3 separate regions of the Homo sapiens genome follow, and all the other regions are linked to region 1. The links are contacts of gene promoters, found by promoter capture Hi-C in human tissues and cell types (Jung and others, 2019). All regions are on one chromosome and are shown on one strand. Each heading gives the region's core, a stretch centred on a gene start or on the middle of the fragment in contact. The rest is flanking DNA. Distances are from core to core; before and after follow the strand shown. Region 1 holds the start of RBBP5 (RB binding protein 5, histone lysine methyltransferase complex subunit). Region 2 has its middle 8.0 kb from the start of NFASC. Region 3 holds the start of CDK18 (cyclin dependent kinase 18).

Region 1 (3,553 bases), core at 541-3,040:
GTCAGAGAATTTAGAGGAAACTAGGCTGTGGTTTTCACACGATATTTTTCCTTGTTGCTTTTGCCTTTATGCAAAGTTTTCCTTTGTCTTTGGAGAGTAGAAAAACTGTGGATTTTTTTTTTTTTGAGACAGAGTCTCACTCTGTTGTCCAGGCTGGAGTGCAATGGTGCGATCTTGGCTCACTGAAACCTCTGCCTCCCGGGTTCAAGCGATTCTCCTGCCTCAGCCTCCCGAGTAGCTGGGATAACAGGCATGAGCCACCACGCCCAACTAATTTTGTATTTTTAGTAGAGACAGTGTTTCTCCATATTGATCAGGCTGGTCTCGAACTCCCGACCTCAGGTGATCAGCCCGCCTCGGCCTCCCAAAGTGCTGGGATTACAGGCGTGAGCCACCGCACCCGGCTGCAAAAGACATACTTTATAAAGGTCCAAGGATAATGGAAATAGAAGACATTAATGTAATATGTTCTTGGGAACTAATTGGATACACCAAGTATTATCTTTGACTAGTTTCTGGACTTCTGCTTCATTCTGCAACCTGCAGCCAACTACCATGGTGTCCATCTATTATTAGGCGCTTTAAATAGCTCCTTAATTCACATTTACTCTCTTCAATCGATGTGTCAGACTGTGGGGGCCACTTAATTCCCATTCCAAATTCTTGGGAAAGGAATTTAATTGGGTTGAGCTTAGGTCAGGGGCTTACTGAAAGAGCAATCAACTGGGGCCCAGGGACAGGGTGCACTGTGTGAATGAGGCTGCTTTTTCTGCAAATTTGTCAAGTAGAGGCAGACTGGACTAGCTACATAATTTGCAGGGCCCTGGGCAACATGAAAATGCTGGGCTCCCTAGTTCAAAAGTTTCATTATTGTTTCCAAAAGTTTGCAATTGCAGACAATACTGCGATTAATAAACTTGTGTATGTGTATTTTTCCATTGTCGGAGACCTAGCCCGAGTACTATTTTCTGCAGCGAGCCTTTGACGTTGTTTCCTTTTTCTGATGAGCCACAGCATTTATAGTAGGAATTTGTTCATATAAAATTTGCTCTTTCGCTAGATACCAGTAACTGGACTTCTCTAATTGCTTTGGGTATTTCATTGGAGTTCTGTATGACTGAGCTCCGGGAAACTCAGTCCACCCCTCATTCCAATTCTTTTTCACAGTCTTTTTCACAGCGTCCCTGTCAACACTGTTTGGTAAAGGGTAAAACCTTAGATAATAAGGTTTTTATTATCTTAACACAGACAGGCCTAACATATGTTGTCGTACCTTTCTGTAGGATCAATAGCATATCTTTACAAATGAGAAATAATTTTCACGAGACCGAAACACCCTGCAACGCCACCTACATACAGGGTAAGTACGCGCCTTGGTGAGGTCAGCGGCGCTACACACCCGAGCACTAGGGGACGACCTTCCCTGGTTTCTTGCATTAGCAGGACTTGTCCGGAACCTTTCCTGCGGAGTCTGAGGTAGCCCGCCCGGACAACGCCGCTGAACACACAACAGGGCAAGAACTAGTAGGTTAACTGTATGCCTGGAATTTCTACCTCACCTACATGTTCCCGGAGCAAATAATCTTAAATTGTCGCGCTATTTAAAGTCCCTAGTGACGATAACATTGTTGTACCTCAGCAAAGATCATAATTAATTGTTTCCGAGAGAGTGTATGCTTGATTTTGGTCAGGCATATATTTGGGCAGCCCACCTGAAACGAACAAGGAAGGCGGGGGAAGAAAGCGGAAGCCGCGGGGCCTTCTAAGGCCGAAAGTCTTCGGAGCTTGCGCCAGTCTCTTCGCGGCGTCCACCACTTAGACGCAAGTTGCTGAAGCCGGCCGGGGAGAAGGTGTTGTTGCCGGAGCTGAGACCGGGCGGCCACAGTCCGCAGGGATGAACCTCGAGTTGCTGGGTGAGAAGGGCTGTGGCTGCGTTTTAGAGAAGCGTTGGGTACTGGAAAGGAGGGAACCCAGGCGGGAGGGGAGTCAGGCTGCAATCTTAGGGACACTGTTCGGCTATGGATCACTGGGCACACCTGATGTGGAGCAGCAGCGGGAGGAGGAAGCCCACCTTCTGCCCGAGTAGGTTGCATTGCCCCTCCCGAGGCCACTTTCATATCAATTATGGAGCGATGGGGACAGACAGTTTGTGACTTAGCTTTGATTATGAGGATCGCAGGTGTTGAAGTACCCAGAGCAGCCAGGACCAGAGTTGTTGGAGATGGAATTTGAAGAAGTGAGGCTTGGGATGAAGCTTTGAAGACTTGTCAGGGAATTGGGTGCCTGAACAGGTTAATCTTTTTGTAGAAAAGAGAAGTCTAAGGAGGGGACTTGGAGATCTTCTGGTAGAAGCTTCTCATTGAACAGATGAATAAAGGCTCAGAGGGTAATGGCTAGGCACTAAGCAAGTAAATGGCATAGTTGGCACTGGAATCCAATTATCCTAACTTTCTGTTTAAGGTCCTTTGCTAGGGACGGTGTGTAAAACACTGAGGTGTGAAATACGGAGGGAGTTGTCTTTTGTCGCCCTCACTTTGAGTCATTGCCTCCTTACCTCCTATCCAGATTATTTAAAAACTGTAGGTCCTTTCTCCTGGACTTCCATTAGGTGACATTTAGCATGGTATTCTAGGGGTAGCTGAGGTTTTCAAGGACTTCTGCACTACTTGCTGTTCCTAATGGTTAGGTTTCTCTTTTAAAAAAGTCAGAAGATATGTTAATTGTCAAAAGGGCTACAAAGATACATAAAAAATGGTCTTTGCCCTTAAAGAGCTTTTCATTAAGCAGGGAGTTTAAGGTGATTATGTAAAATAGCTGTAGGATATTGCAGAATGTAGGCAGGCCTGAAAGAGTCATTACCAGTTGCTAAGAATGTTTGGAACAGAGAGTGAATGTCTTTGGGGTAAAGGAAGAAGTCAACCAGGAAAAACAAACCCCCCAAACCTGTGGAGGAGTTGGAGTTTTAAGTGGACTTTTTTTTTTTTTTTTAAGACAGCCTCGCGCCGTCGCCTAGGCTGGAGTGCAGTGGCACAGTCTTGGCTCACTGCAACCTCTGTCTCCTGGGTTCGAGTGATTCTCGTGCCTCAGCCTCCTGAGTAGCTGGTACTACAGGTGCGCACTGCCATGCCTGGCTAATTTTTGTATGTTTAGCAGAGATGGGGTTTCACTGTGTTGGCCAGGCTGGTCTCAAACTCCTGGCCCCAAGCAATCCACTCACCTCAGCCTCCCAAAGTGTCCGGCCTTAAGTGGATTTTTAAGGTTGGTAAAATATCAACAGGCTGAAGTATGAAAATATGGGAGGGATGTTCAGTAGGCATCAGTGAGAGAAGACCTAAAGAATTTTCCTGCTTGGCCAGGTTGTGGATAAAGAGAATGCCAGGGGATGGGATCGGTGCCATCTATTTTGTGTTGGTTCTCGAATGCCTAGCTCAAAAGTTTGGGCTTTTTAGGGAAGGTAGGGTAGATCCATTGAAGGATTTTGACTTAGTAACTCAATCAGAGCTATGAGTTTGTAAGGTTTGTCTGACAGCAATGTGGAGTTGAGTTTTGGAGG
Region 2 (3,675 bases), core at 1,043-3,542, 300 kb after region 1:
GAAAAACAAAACAAAACAAAACAAAAAACTCTTCCTCTGCCAGACTCAGCCTCTCATCTGTGCAGCAGTGTACACAGTAAGGGCTTCCCTCATAGCACTTACTGCACTGCGTTTCCAACTGGAAGTTTCCTAGAACAGGGACCATCTTCCTCTCATTGTATCTACAGGGTCCAGCACTATACACTGCTCATAGCTGAAGCTATGGATGAGTGCATGATAAATAAAAGTATGAATAAAAGCAGAGCTGCTATGAATATAGACAGTGCTATCCAATGACAGTAGCCACTAGCCGCATGTGACTATTTAAATTTAACTAAAATTAAAAATTCAGCTCTTCAGTCACACTAACCACATTATAAGTGTACAAGAGCTGCATGTGCCTAGCGGCCACTGTATTAAATGACACAGATTAAAGAACATTGCTATAATTGCAGAAAGTTCTATTGAACAGCACTGGACTACATTATGATGGGCCCAGCTGAAGTTATGCAGTGCGTGACCTGCACAACTGTTCAGAGTGGGCCTGTATGAATGAAGGACCTCTCTGTGTGCAGTACTGTGACCGCTGCTGTGCTAGCTGCTGATCAAAGAATTACACAGACATTTATAGTCTAAGACAGGCATGAGAACATCTGAAAACACATTGTAAAGAATGGCCTCTCGATGAGTAAATATGGGTCAAATGAAGTAAACAGACTATGCGTAGGTATCATCAAATATAGAGAGAATGAACAGACCGAAGAAGGGAAATACAAAGAGGTTTGACGTCCTCACAGCCTAAAAACTAGTGTCTGTTTCCCTTCTTGAAATGGACATTACTTGGCTAGAATTATTTCCTGGAGAAATAAACATATTAGACAGAAATAACCATGCTGGCTATTGAAATATAGCCAAAGAAAATATTTGTCTTCACGTAGCAACCACAGAAGGTCTCCATCATGGCAACCACTGATTTTTCTGGATAAGGTAAGATTTATGATGGTCTTTCTGTTGTTTTCAATAAACCATGGAAATGTCCTATCCATTGCAACATTTCAGCCTCTAAATTGTCTTTCTGACACTGCTTCTTGCACATAGCAAATGTCTGAAAATCTTTTGTCACAGAAAGTGTCTCAGTTTTCTTTTTTTAAGCTATTACCTACCAGAAGTACCTCAGCTTTCTATCAGGAAAATGTGGTCCCTGTACCTTGAGGGTCTTTTTCACTTCCTGTGGGTTATTATTTTATTCTGTTAAAGAAACTGTTAAGTCCAAATGGTTAAGGATGTCTCCTGCACTGGGCCAGACCCACCCAGCTGGGGAAAAGGAAAGGAGACTTCGCCTTCACTTTGTAGCAAGTCAGGGGTACTGTGCTCCAGTCTCTAGACCCTAGACCCCAGACCCCAGACTCCTCTGTTTCTATCCTGTCCTGCCCCTGCCTCCACCCCCAACACAATTTCTGCTGGCTGGCAGGATCAGCAGGAGTAGGGCATGGAGCCAGGAGGTCGCAGCTGAGAACCCAGCCTGTGGGCCTGGCCACCCCCAATTAGTTTATCTTATTAATGCCAATTTATTAGCACAGAACCCCTGGGAAGTGGGCTGGAGGAGTTGTCTGTTTAAAATAAGCTTTTATATTTCAGGTCTGCAAACTGCACACCTGAGAGGCCAGGCCCGAGGTGGGTGGCCTTCCTGCCTCCCACCTCCTCTGGGTAGACCTGGGAGAGTGGATCTGACAGTGGCAGATGGGATGGTGTATGCTTCTAAATACAAGATTTGTCACAGTTTTACATGTAATTGTGCAGGCTTCCTTTTAAGGGTCCTCTACGACTTCATTAGCAACAAAGAATTACTCTATTAAGCTTTATAAATAACATAGCCTTAATAATTAAATCTTGTTCCTTCTCAGGGCCCCAAGTGGACTCACTCCTTCAGTTCTTAGGTGTTAGGAGCTGCAGTAAATGATATTTTCCTTATATTTCCTTAGGGACTTTCTGACTTGTAATAAGTCCTCATCATTCACCCCCTCATTGAAGCTGGGACTGAAATAAGTGGTGCCATATCCTCTCAGACACAAGAGAGCATTTTAAACAAATTGATGAACAGTCATCATTTAAGGAAAATATTAAAAGTACCTGAGACATTTTCATGGGCCATAAGTTCCCTCTGCTACATACGAACCAAGTGCTATGACCAGGTGAATCCTACCTGCAAAGATGTAGGAGTGAGAGAAATGAAACCCCTTTTCTTATTCAGACTCAGCTTTAAAAAACTCCAAGAGCAAACAAAAGCTGCTCATCCATCCTTGCCCAGGAAGAACCTCTCCATGGATAAGCATTCGGCTATTGTGTGCGTTGGTGCATATTAGGGGGAGAATGAGTCCATCTGAATCAGTGGTGCGCTAGTAAATAGTTAACAACTGGTTCACTGGAAAGAAAAAAACCCCTGAGGTATAGCATTTTCTGATTTCTGTGATGTAAATTCCCCTGCCATGGTCAATCTCAAGATGACAACATGATGTCACTCAATGTGATGAAGGAGAGACCATTATATTACATTTCCACCATACAGCTACTATGAACGTAAATAACCTCAAGATCATAGATAATAGTAAAACACAGGAAAATCATTAGAAAATGATGGGTTTCGAGTTATTTCTACTTTTTCATTTAATGTAATTATTTAATTGTAAGTTTATATAATTTAATGTTTCCTGATGGCTGTCTCTCACAGCTGGCTTGCAAAGTTCCTGAAAATTTAACAATCAGCTCCTGTGAGCTGGCATAAGCTTGTTCCGGCACATTATTGCCCTGGAGCCACTCAGTCACATGTCTGTGTCCCTGTTGTTATTGCCACTTCCAGCTTAGAATTTCTGTGTCATAGCTTCCATGGCAACCTCATGATGCATGATGCGTTCTTAAAAAGTGGAAACCAGACATAGACACTGCTAGTGACCCAGCCATATCCACTTTAGAGCTGGTGCTGCCATCCCCCAGCTGCTGTGAGTGCTGCAGCTAATGGGGAAGGGGTCACACCTGTGTCCCTCCCTGAAGCCCTGATCCCACTTCAGGACCTGCCTCTCCCTGAGATGCGTGGAGGTTGCAGTTGCCAGTGATGACTTACAAGGGGCAAAAATCCCTTCCCCTTGCCTCAAGGATGACTATTCTTCGGAGGAGTTACACTCAGAGTATCTGTGAATCAGGCCAAAGTATGATGTGCCTTTACATGGACACATCCTGGCTTGGCAACTTCCTTTATCCTGCTTTTCACATTCCCTTCTTCAGTAAATATGCACCAAATTGAACTCAACATGAGCAAAGACAGTACCAAGGCTGACAAATAGGCCTGCGTTCAGGAGCAGTAAGATAGAAACCTGCAGTCACACAAGGTTGGGCTGGGCTTTGGCACCAGTCAAAAGGGTTTTAGCATTGGTCCGGTTGGCATCAAACACCCTGCTACAGGGCCTTTGGCTGGGATTGCTCTGGGGCCAACTTTTCTCTATTTCCATGCACTTCAACATGGGGTATCAGTGCTATAACAAGGGTTCTAGAACATGAAATATCTTCATGGATCATCATTTTGGCTCAGATTTAATGAGAACATGGGTAGAATGGGGAAAGTTTTGTAATCTAGCTAGAAGGTAATTTTATGTATTTGTATACTGAAATAATAATAGCTAACGCAAGTAGTGATTACCATAT
Region 3 (3,632 bases), core at 592-3,091, 380 kb before region 1:
GCCACTAAGGCTTGTCTACTCTGCCTCTGGCACCCCCGATAAGTTTGGGAAGAACTTCTTCTGGCACGCGTGGAGAGCTTCTTCCATTCTCCTGGCAGGGTATGGGGAGAGTCCTGGGGACCCAGTGGGGAGAGTCCTGGGAACCCAATGGTCAGGTACACCCCAGATTAAGGGTGGGGGAGGGGTCAGCCCCACAGCCTCCTCAGCTGCACAAGAGGTGGCTGGGAAAGGGTAACCCGAGATAGCAGCTTTGCTGTGGCAAGGTGACCCTCTCTCTGGAACGCCTTCAGGATGCAAACCCGGACCTGGAGCCAGTGTCGCCCTGTACTCCACCGACCCTCAGCACCCTCAGCACCGTTTTCCCAGGCCCCTCCCAAGGCCAGGCTAAAGGCAGGGGATCTCTGAGGACGTGCCAGTCCACCAGGCGCTCCAGGCATCCTCTCAGGCCCGTGTCCAGGAATGTGCTGCATGCCCATGCCCGGGTGGGGAATGCCACGCGAACATGCCGAAGCTCACTGGGTGCTGACACAGGAGGGGCAAGCCGGTGGTGTTAGTGAGTCACAGGGCCCAGGCTACAGCTGGGGAACTGCCGAGGGCTGGGCTAGGGGTGGGGAAGAAGGGGAGACAGTAGCAGATAGCGCGGAAGAGGTTCCAGGGCCTCTCACTCCCACAGTGTCAATCCTCCCACCCCGACTGCCGGGAGGTGCCCAGAGAGAATGAAGAGAGGCAGGGCTGGTGCCTAGGAGGGTGCTGACCCTGCAGCACAGAAAACCCCTCACTGTTTCTGCAGCCCAACTCCCACCCAGCACAAGGTCTGCAGACACCTTCAGGGAATCCCCGCCCCCCACAGGGCGAAAACAGAGGCCTCCAGTCCAGACCCGATTTTGGATTTCAGATTCCTGATGGTGTCCCTCAACTACAGCAGAATCCTCAAGGCACATCTCCTTAGCCCAACAGGTCACCGCCCACTCCCCCCGGCCCCACCCAGCCTCCTTTCCCTCTGCTGCATTAACCCTCTGTCGCCTGTTGATGAGGGGTGGAGGGGGGCACTGCCCCTTTGGTCTTCCGGGGTGGAAAGAGAGAAGCAGCAGCATTCCCCAGACCCCTGCCTCCCCCAGAACTGGGACCTGCAGGGCTTCACGTGTCCTTCCACGTTCTTCCCAGGGCTCCGGCCTCCCACCCCCTGCCTGCCGCTCTGGAAAGTTCACCAGAGCCCAGGAAGCCCTTCAAGGCAGCGATGTGGCCCCACACTCTCGGGTCCTTTGGTCCCTGGAGACTCCTGACCCTTGCCCTTCCCAGAATGAAGGGAGCTTAGAAAGCGCCTGGTTCCGGACTGGGTGGAAAACTTTGCTTTGTAGGGTTCAGACGGGAGCCCAGGGGCCAAAGTGATCCCAGATGGAGACTCCCTAAGGGGGCGCGGGGTCTGAGATTGCAAAATAACCCTCCCTCTCAAGCACCTGGAACTTACGAGTGGCCTTTCGAGGGCACCCCCCACCCCTCAACACACAACACAGTATCACACAGATCACGCCTCGTGATCTCTGCTCTCCCCTCGCCGCTCCGGTATTTCCCTCCAACCTCTCGCCTCAGGGCAAAAGCAAAACTGCGCCTTTAAGAGCCGTTCCGCTTACCTTTGCTCCTTATACCCGGCGCCGCGGTGCCCGCTCCTCCGACCTCCCCCTTCCTCCCAGGCGCACCGCCCGCGGGACTCACAGCGCGTGTCCTGGGGGCCGCGGTGCGCCCGCTCCCTCCCGGGCACGGGGCAGCTTCCCCTGCTCCGGAAAGGTGAGCAGTTCCCCAGAGAAGCTGCAACCTGAGCTGGCCGAGGAGGAGGTAGAAGGGGAGGGGAAGGGAGGGAGTGGAGGAAGGTGGGGAAGAGGAGGGAGGAGGAGGAGGAGGAGGAGGAGGAAGGAAAATGCCCGGCCCCCGCCAGAGTTTTTCACATGTACAAGTTGACTCCGCCCCCGGCCCTCCCGCCCTGCCCACAGCCGCTACCAATCCCCAGGGCTCCCTCTGCCCGGGTGCCCACCCCTTTCTCCCACTCTGGGAACCAGGGTCCAAGTGCCTCTTCCTGTTTCGTTTCTAAAACCGGCCCTGAGAGCCTTGGCTAGGGGATGAGGCCTTCTGGACTGGATCACCCCAGGACACCAAGGCGCCAGGGGTACACTGAGAGTGCCTGCCTGTCTCTAAAAGCGGTGCTCCTACCTCTCCTAGGTACCTCCCTGTACCTGGCGCCCTAGGAACGAATGTGCATGGACAGATTTTGGTGGTCATTTTCTTGACAATAGTAGCCCTCGGGCTCCCCTTCTACCCTATCCAGTGGGACTTGTCACTTACCTTTCCGGACAAAGTTCCCACCTCTCCAGGACCTGAATGAAGCCCTTGTTACCAGCCATCATTCACATTTCCCTCCCCGAAGGATAATTCAACTTGTCCTTTTGGAATTAAACTCCACAGGATATTTGAGAATCATCCAAGAAGGGTTACAGAATGGCTAGTTCAGCTAGTGGCACTCTCATTTTACAGAAGGGGAAACTGAGGCCCAGCAAAGCAATTGAACTGGCCTAAAGTGCCACAAGAGTTCATGGCGAGCCATGATTAGAACTCAGGCCAATGGCCATTGCACCCACATCATCTGACTTCAAGGATCAAAAAAAAAAACAAAACAAAAATCTGGGGATGGGGGTGAAGGGCACAGTGCCCCACCGCCAGGCCCCTCTCATCTCTGCTTCCTCCTGAGGGCTGTGAGGAGAGGAGGTGTGCCTTGGCTCTATGGCACCTCATCAAGGCAGTCTGTGTCCCCTGCCCTACCAGAGGGCTTGGCTGCTGCAGTCTGGGGTCTCCCACAGGGAAAGTCTCCTTAGGAGGGGGTGCTCCACAGTGTACATGTGCTTCTACCTGAACCCTTTCCCTGGGGACTGTGAGTTGTTGAGAATAGAACAGTTTCCTTCTGGAAGACATGGGCCTGAGGTCCCACTGTCAGCTGGAGACAGGAGAATGAAGGAAGACACTGGGCCCATGCATGAAAGTGACCTGTGGGTAGTTGACATCTCACAGAGGGCCTCCCAACTCTTTTTTTTTTTTTTACCTCGCTTTCTCTGCCAAGGCATGCAGATTTCCTGGGCACAGCACTTCCTAAAAATGAAACTGCCAAGTGTTGTCGGGGTGCATGGATCCAGAGCCTTTAGGTGTGCAGCAACCTCCTGGCTCTGTAGTCCAGTGGATGGTGAGAAGCCTGGGGAGCAGGAGGCCATAAAGAGGTTTGGAAGGGGCAGGGAGGGAAAGGGAGAAGGACTATGGCCAAGGAACTGTTTACTGGCGGATTAGAGAGAGTGGGGCCAAAGGGTAGAATTTCAAGGAACTAGGGGGGTGAAGTCAAGAGGTCTCCACAAACACTTTCTCAACATCTCTTATGTGCCAAATGATAGCCAGGGCTCTGGGCACATAAGATGAGTATAACCCAGTCCCTGCCTTCAAGAAGCTCTTGGTGTAATGCGGCAGGGAAGCAAACAGTTAGGATGCTATAGGAGGAGGCTTAGTGTTACGGATGCCTGGGAGGAGCTATTCTGCTTGAGGTGAGGGTTACAGGATGAGGGGACAAGAGAGAGGAGGAAGGATTTTCCCTGTTTTTT

What was found. Contacts are between HindIII fragments. The study calls those that stand out against the background at their distance.
Region 2: a fragment that was not itself captured here is called in contact with the fragment with the promoter of RBBP5 in region 1 in 2 of the 25 tissues and cell types used here (hippocampus and neural progenitor cells).
Region 3: the fragment with the promoter of CDK18 here is called in contact with the fragment with the promoter of RBBP5 in region 1 in 1 of the 25 tissues and cell types used here (hippocampus).

The regions. Positions count from the first base shown.
Region 1 is chr1:205,120,215-205,123,767 of GRCh38, reverse strand. RBBP5 (RB binding protein 5, histone lysine methyltransferase complex subunit) reads left to right here and starts at 1,790. Exons shown (of 14, transcript NM_005057.4): 1 at 1,790-1,913. The coding sequence starts at 1,895. RefSeq lists a silencer at 813-1,107 and enhancers at 1,469-1,688, 1,829-2,008, 3,172-3,553. The HindIII fragment of the contact is 11,521 bases long and covers 1-3,553 here.
Region 2 is chr1:204,818,853-204,822,527 of GRCh38, reverse strand. No RefSeq gene overlaps it. Among named protein-coding and RNA genes, the nearest start is that of NFASC, 8.0 kb to the left of the region's middle. The HindIII fragment of the contact is 4,246 bases long and covers 170-3,675 here.
Region 3 is chr1:205,502,878-205,506,509 of GRCh38, reverse strand. CDK18 (cyclin dependent kinase 18) reads right to left here and starts at 1,841. Exons shown (of 16, transcript NM_212502.3): 1 at 1,714-1,841. The HindIII fragment of the contact is 16,948 bases long and covers 1-3,632 here.